Linked DNA regions of Homo sapiens: region 2 is linked to region 1. Evidence: promoter capture Hi-C in 16 types of primary human blood cells and fetal thymus (Javierre and others, 2016). All regions are on one chromosome and are shown on one strand. The core of a region is centred on a gene start or on the middle of the fragment in contact, and the rest is flanking DNA. Distances in the headings are between cores, read along the strand shown. Region 1 holds the start of KRTAP5-5 (keratin associated protein 5-5). Region 2 has its middle 3.6 kb from the start of KRTAP5-10.

What was found. Contacts are between HindIII fragments. The CHiCAGO score rates a contact against its expected background, and 5 or more counts as called.
Region 2: a contact is called between a fragment that was not itself captured here and the fragment with the promoter of KRTAP5-5 in region 1, in 1 of 17 cell types (M0 macrophages). The highest score is 5.9, in M0 macrophages.

The regions. Positions count from the first base shown.
Region 1 is chr11:1,628,489-1,631,731 of GRCh38, reverse strand. It overlaps KRTAP5-5 (keratin associated protein 5-5), which reads right to left and starts at 1,957. Exons shown (of 1, transcript NM_001001480.3): 1 at 802-1,957. The coding sequence starts at 1,891. The coding sequence ends at 1,178. The HindIII fragment of the contact is 5,409 bases long and covers 170-3,243 here.
Region 2 is chr11:71,560,416-71,563,491 of GRCh38, reverse strand. No RefSeq gene overlaps it. Among named protein-coding and RNA genes, the nearest start is that of KRTAP5-10, 3.6 kb to the left of the region's middle. The HindIII fragment of the contact is 1,749 bases long and covers 728-2,476 here.

The sequences.
Region 1 (3,243 bases), core at 708-3,207:
TGGCGGGGGCAGGAGGAGGGTGAGGATCAAAAAGTCACCTATTGGGTACTATGCTCATTACCTGGTTGATGAAATAATCTATACACCAAACCCCCATGACATGCAATTCATCTATATGGCAAGCCTGCACATGCAGCCCTGAACCCAAAATAAAAGCTGAAAGAAAGCTTGTCTCCAGGCTAGGTTGCCTTAGAAGGCACTGGGCATTTGGGCTCCCCCAGCTCTGGAATTTTTTTTTGGAGGTGGGGATCTATTCAACTCCCGGCTGCCTTCGAGCTTGTGTCCCGCAGCTGGCGTTGTGTGCAGTCCTGCCTTCTCCTGTCTGGTTTTTCAAGGCCCTGTGAGATTGCAGATAAGCCCAAGCTCCTCCGCATCTCCACGTCTGGCTCCTGCATGCACTAGGGGCTTCTTAGGGCCTGATGTACCGCACAGCTCAGCATACAGACCCTTCCTCATCCTTCCGCTGAAGTGGCCTGGCCCTGAGCTTCCCTCCCTCCCACGGGACGGCAGTGCCTCCACGGCTGACACCACCGCCCTCACCACCTTTCCCTCTCCCCACCTCTCCCCACATACCAGACTGTGAGCTTGGATTTACTCTGCTCTGTCATCTCTGGAGCCCAACACAACAAGGGGCCCAGAGCAGAAAGCTATAGACGTTAGTTCTGTGCATGAAGACATGGACCATGACATGAAAGATGCTGAGGGGAGAGAAATGGGAACAGGCCCAGGGGTGGAGGCAAGAAGATGGTGCTTCTGGGAATGAGAGAGAGGTGGGAAGGAGAGAACCACAAGACAGTGAGCTTTGTGCTTAGAGACTTTGTTTATTTAGAGGGTCAGGATTCAGTCTTGATATACAGACAGCCAGAGAGATTGAGGGTCGATCACACTCCTGAAAGAAGGAGCAGCTGTCAGGGTCTAAGGGGTCTGATCTGCCTCTGGGGCCTCAGTGGGCCGCTTTGGATCTTAAATGAGTGAGGAGCAGGGAGAGGAAGTTCAGGAGAAGTAGTAGGCAATGAGCCAGAAGGGGTCCTCAGTCAGTTTCGGGAGCACTGGTGTGGAGTGGATGAAGCCAGTGAGGACACAGTGGAGACAGTGGAGCACCAGAGAACCCAGGGCAAGGAAGCTGGGCAGCCGGGCCCTTCACCAGTCAGGCCACCTGCAGTCTGCAGTCAGAGCCTCAGATCTTACACTGGCAGCACACGGGGACACAGCAGCTGGACTGGCAGCAGCAGGGCTTGTAGCAGCTGGATTGGCAGCAGGATGATCCACAGCCTGAGAAGCAGCTACAGGGCTTACAGCAGCTGGACTGGCAGCAGTAGGGCTTACAGCAGCTGGACTGGCAGCAGTAAGGCTTACAGCAGCTGGACTGGCAGCAGGATGACCCACAGCCTGAGGAGCAGCAGCAGGGCTTGCAGCAGCTGGACTGGGAGCAGCCATAAGAACCACAGCCCCCCTTGGACCCCCCACAGGAGCCACAGCCCCCCTTGGACCCCCCACAGGAGCCACAGCCCCCCTTGGACCCCCCACAGGAGCCACAGCCCCCCTTGGACCCCCCACAGGAGCCACAGGCCCCCTTGGACACCCCACAGGAGACACAGCCTCTCTTGGAGCCCCCGCAAGAGCCACAGCCCCCTTTGCCACAGCTGGAGCAGGAACAAGCTGGCACACAGCAGCACATGGGCTTGCAGCAGCAGACAGGCACACAGCAGCCGGAGCCACATCCCCCACAGCCCGCACAGCCGGAGCCACAGCCCCCACAGCCTCCACAGCCGGAGCCACAGCCCCCACAGCCAGAGCCACAGCCTCCACAGCCGGAGCCACAGCCCCCACAGCCGGAGCCACGGCCTCCACAGCCGGAGCCACAGCCTCCGGAGCAGCCACAGCAGCCCATGGTTCTGGTGGATTGAGGGTGGAGCAGGTAGAGGAGCAGGTGAGAGGGAGGTGCAGGTGTGGAGCCCCCTGAGCCCGGGCTCTTTATATCCCTGTCCAGGGTCAGGTGAGAGGCTGGGCACACTGTCACTTCCTGGTTCCTGCTTGTGCCACTGGTCCCAGTATTCTCTTCTGCTTTACATTTTTATAAATAACTCCTGTTTTCCTCGCACTTTTCTCGAATGTGCTGTCAGGTCTGTGATGGAAGCGGCCCCTCAGTAAACACTGGCCCCGCGGTGAGTTTCCCTTTCCATGTGACAAGAAGGAAGCGATGGGCAGGCAGTGGCTCGCTCAGAGGCCTTGGTCTTGCCGAGGGTGATTTTGAGCCCAGGACTCCTGGCTTGCTCCCGGGAAGATTCCTCTGCGGGAGCATCGTGTCTTGCTTGGGACGTGCCTAGGCCCTACACCTTCACGGTCCACAGCAGCTCCTGGCCCGCGGGCTGTTTCCAAGGGTCCCAGGACCTGGGGCTTCAGCCCTCAGCTCAGCAGGGTCGTTTTCGGTGTAAGACTTTGTTGGAAGGTTTGCAGTGTTGACTGAGACGGGGATTTTAAGCGCTTATTCTGGAGCTTGCTGCGTGCTCCCCATGGAAAGTGTTCTCCTGTGATAACCGCGGTCTCTTCCAGGGCTTTCAGACCACTCGGGTGGCAGGGCTGACAGATACAGTACAGGATGCCTGCTGGAACTTGAATTTCAGATCATCGAAGGCTGCCTTTTGAGGAAGGAAATCCAAGCATTGCAAGGGGCAGACACTGCCTCTGCGCTGGGTCAGGACCCAGATCGCATTGTCTCCTGCAGCGGTTCCTCCTGCCGCCGCACGGTGTCGCTGTGAAGCGGGTTCCCCCACTGCGTGGCCGGCCCAGGGGCTCCCGGACAGCGGCACAGGCTGATGGCAGAGGCCCTTTCAGGGCCAGTGAGCGGAAGAGGATGCCCTGTCTGGGTGCCCGCCTGCTCCGGGTCCCGGGCTCAGCCTGGGAAGCAGCAACTACATTCGGGTGCAGGCCCACTGGATGCTAAAGAAAGCCGGTGGAGAGCAGGGAACCGGATGGCCATTTGCCCCCGTGACCACAATACCTGTGAGTGCCCCGAGCCCAGTCAACAGGCCTCAGGCCACGGTGTAAACACCAGCTGGCACTCGGTGACTCTTGCCGTGTATGCTGGAGCCCCACTCTGTTCTGGGGCAGGGGACTGTATCTCAGGGAGGAACAGAAAACCCATTAGGAGAGAGCCGCCTTGTGTTGGCTGTCCCCACCAGAGGCGGCATCCTCCAGCTCTGGAACAGAGGCAACAGATACATTTGCTTCCTGATACATTCG
Region 2 (3,076 bases), core at 353-2,852, about 70 Mb before region 1:
AAGGGAACTCGTATGCTGTTAGTGGGAAGTTGTACAACCACTAAGGAAAACTGTATGGAGATTCCTCAAAAAGCTAAAAATAGAGCTAACCCAGCAATCCCACTATGGGGTGTGTATCCAAAGGAAAAGAAATCAGTGTGTTGAAGAGATATCTGCACCCCATGTTTATCACAGCACTGCTCACGATAGCCATGATATGAAAGCACCTAAGTGCTTGTCAACAGATGAATGGAAAACATGGAAAAGTAATGAAAAGGAAAAGATGGTGTATACACACAATGGAATTCTATTTAACCCTAGAGCAGAACAAAATTCTGCCCTATGTGACAATACAGGTGAGCTTGGAGGACATTATGCTAAATGAAATAAGCCAGGCACAGAAAGATGAACTGCATGATCTCACTCACAGGTGCAAGCTAAAGAAGTTGATATCTCACTGGTCCCCATAAACATGTACAATGATCATGCTTCAATTAAAATATTAATAAAGAAAGAAAAAGAATAACTGTAGAATATGCTGGGAATGCAACATCCTGAGTTAGGGAGGGACTGGCCAGAAGAGTCGGGCTTTGTCCCAGTTCCTAGAAACAGGATATTCTTTCGTGCTTTAGTGCAGTGAATCCTGTAGCCCTGGGACATAAGACCGAGGGCAGGCGGCTTTCTGGGATCCCTCAGCTGTGGTGTGAGTGGGGCACACATGGATAAGACTCAGCTCACCTGGGAAGCTTTGCTGAGGCTAGAGGGCTCCCAATGAATCCGAGGCTCCTGTTCTCCCTTGCTGCCTGTCTGTAACTGGTATACCCACTTCCTGTGACATATGTGAGTGTCTCACCTGAGTCTGATAAATGGGTAACATTAGTAGTAGCCAGAGGCTACTACTAATTTACTTTTTGTCTCTCTCTATTTTTCTATTCTTGAAATTTCATACCTGTGAAATTATATGATATGTGGTCTTTTATAATTTCCTTCTTTCACTTAGTGTAATGTTTTGTGGTTCATCCATGTTGCAGCCTGAAACAGAACTTCATTACTATGATAAATTATTTACACTAATCTTCCTTTGTATGAATACACCATTCATTCCTCAGTTGGCAGACATTAGACTGTTTCCACCTTTTGGCTGTTGTGAGTAATGCTGCTGTGAACATGGGTGTGCCAGTTTTTGCATGGAATGTGTTTTCATTTCCCTTGGGAACATCCTTATGAGCAGAATTGCTGGGCCCTATGGTAACTCTCTGCTTAAGTTTTTGAGGAACTGCAGACTGTTTTCCACAGTGGCTGAGCAATTTACATTCCCACAGCAGTGCATGGAGGTTCCAGTGTTTCTGCATCCTTGTCAACAGTTGTTATTTTATTTTATTTTTATTTATTTATTTTTTAGAGACAGGGTTTTACTGTGTTGACAAAGCTGAAGTGCAGTGTCATGATCATAGCTCACTGCAGCCTCAACCTCCTGGACCCAAGCAATCCTTGTCTCAAACTCCCCAGTAGCTGGGACTACAGTTGTGCCTCATCACACCCAGCTAAATTTTTAATTTTTTGTAGAGACAAGGTCTTGCCATGATACCCATACTAGACTCAAACTCGTGGCCCCAAGGGATCCTCCCTTCCAGCCTCCTGAGTCACTGGGATTACAGGTACAAGCACACCCTGCCCCAATACTTGTTAATGTCTGACCTTTTACATTATATTCATCCTAGTGTTTGTGAAATGGTATCTCATTGTGATTTCAATTTGCATCTCCCTGTTGAATCATGATGCTCAGAGTCTTTTTATATGCTTGTTGTCATTTGGGTATCTTCTTCAGAAAATGTCTAATTAAGATTCTTTGCCCACTTTTTAATTGGGTTATTTGTCTTTTTATTACTGAGTTCCACATCCAGAAGAATAAAACTGGGCCGCTAACCAGATCACCATATACAAACATTAATTCAAGATGGATTAAAGACCGAAATGTAAGACCTCAAACTATAAAAATCCTAGAAGAAGACCTAGGAAATCACCTTCTTGATATCAGCCTTGTTAAAAAAGAATTACGGCTAAATCCTCACAAGCAATTGCTACAAAAACAAAAATTGACAAGCGGGACGTAATTAAACGGAAGAGCTTCTGCACAGCAAGAGAAACTATCAGGGAGTCAACACTCAACCTACAAAATGGGTGAAAATATTCACACACTGTGCATCTGACAAAAGTCTAATATCTGCAATCTACAAGGAACTTAAATCAACAAGCAAAAAACAAATAACTTCATTACGAAGTGAGTAAAGGATATGAACAGACACTTCTCAAAAGAAGACATGCACATGGCCAACAACTATATGAAAAAATGCTCCACATCACTAACTATTAGGGGAATGTAAATCAAAACCACCATGAGATACCATCTCATATCAGTCAGAATGGCTTTTGATAAAAAATAAAAAATGAAACAACACAAAACAAAACAAACCAAAAATCAGATGCTGGCAAAGCTTGGGAGAAAAGGGAACAGTTGTACACTGTTGGTGGGAGTGTAAATGATTTCAGCCACCATGGAGAGCAGTTTGGAGATTCCTCAAAGAGCTAAGAATTGAACTACTATTTGACCCAGCAATCTCATTATTGGGTATATACCCAAAGGAAAATAAATCAATCTACCAAAAAGACACATGCATCCATATGTTCATTGCAGTGCTATTCACAGAAGCACAGATGTGGAATCAACCCAGGTGCCCATCAATGGTGGATTGGATAAAGAAAATGTGGTACATACACACCATGGAATACTACACAGCTATAAAAAAGAATGAAGTAATATCTTTTGCGGCAATATGCAGCTGGAGGCCATTATCCTAAGAGAACTAATGCAGAAGCAGAAAACCAAATCCCACATATTCTCACTTATAGGTGAGAGCTAAACATTGAGTCCACATGGACATAAAGATGAAAACCATAGACACTGGGGAACAAGAGGAGGGAGGAAAGGAGGGAGGGGGCAAGGGCTGAAAAACTATTGGGTACTACAGTCACTACTCCAAACCTCAGCATCACACAATATATCCATGTGACAAATCTGCACATGTACTGCTTGATT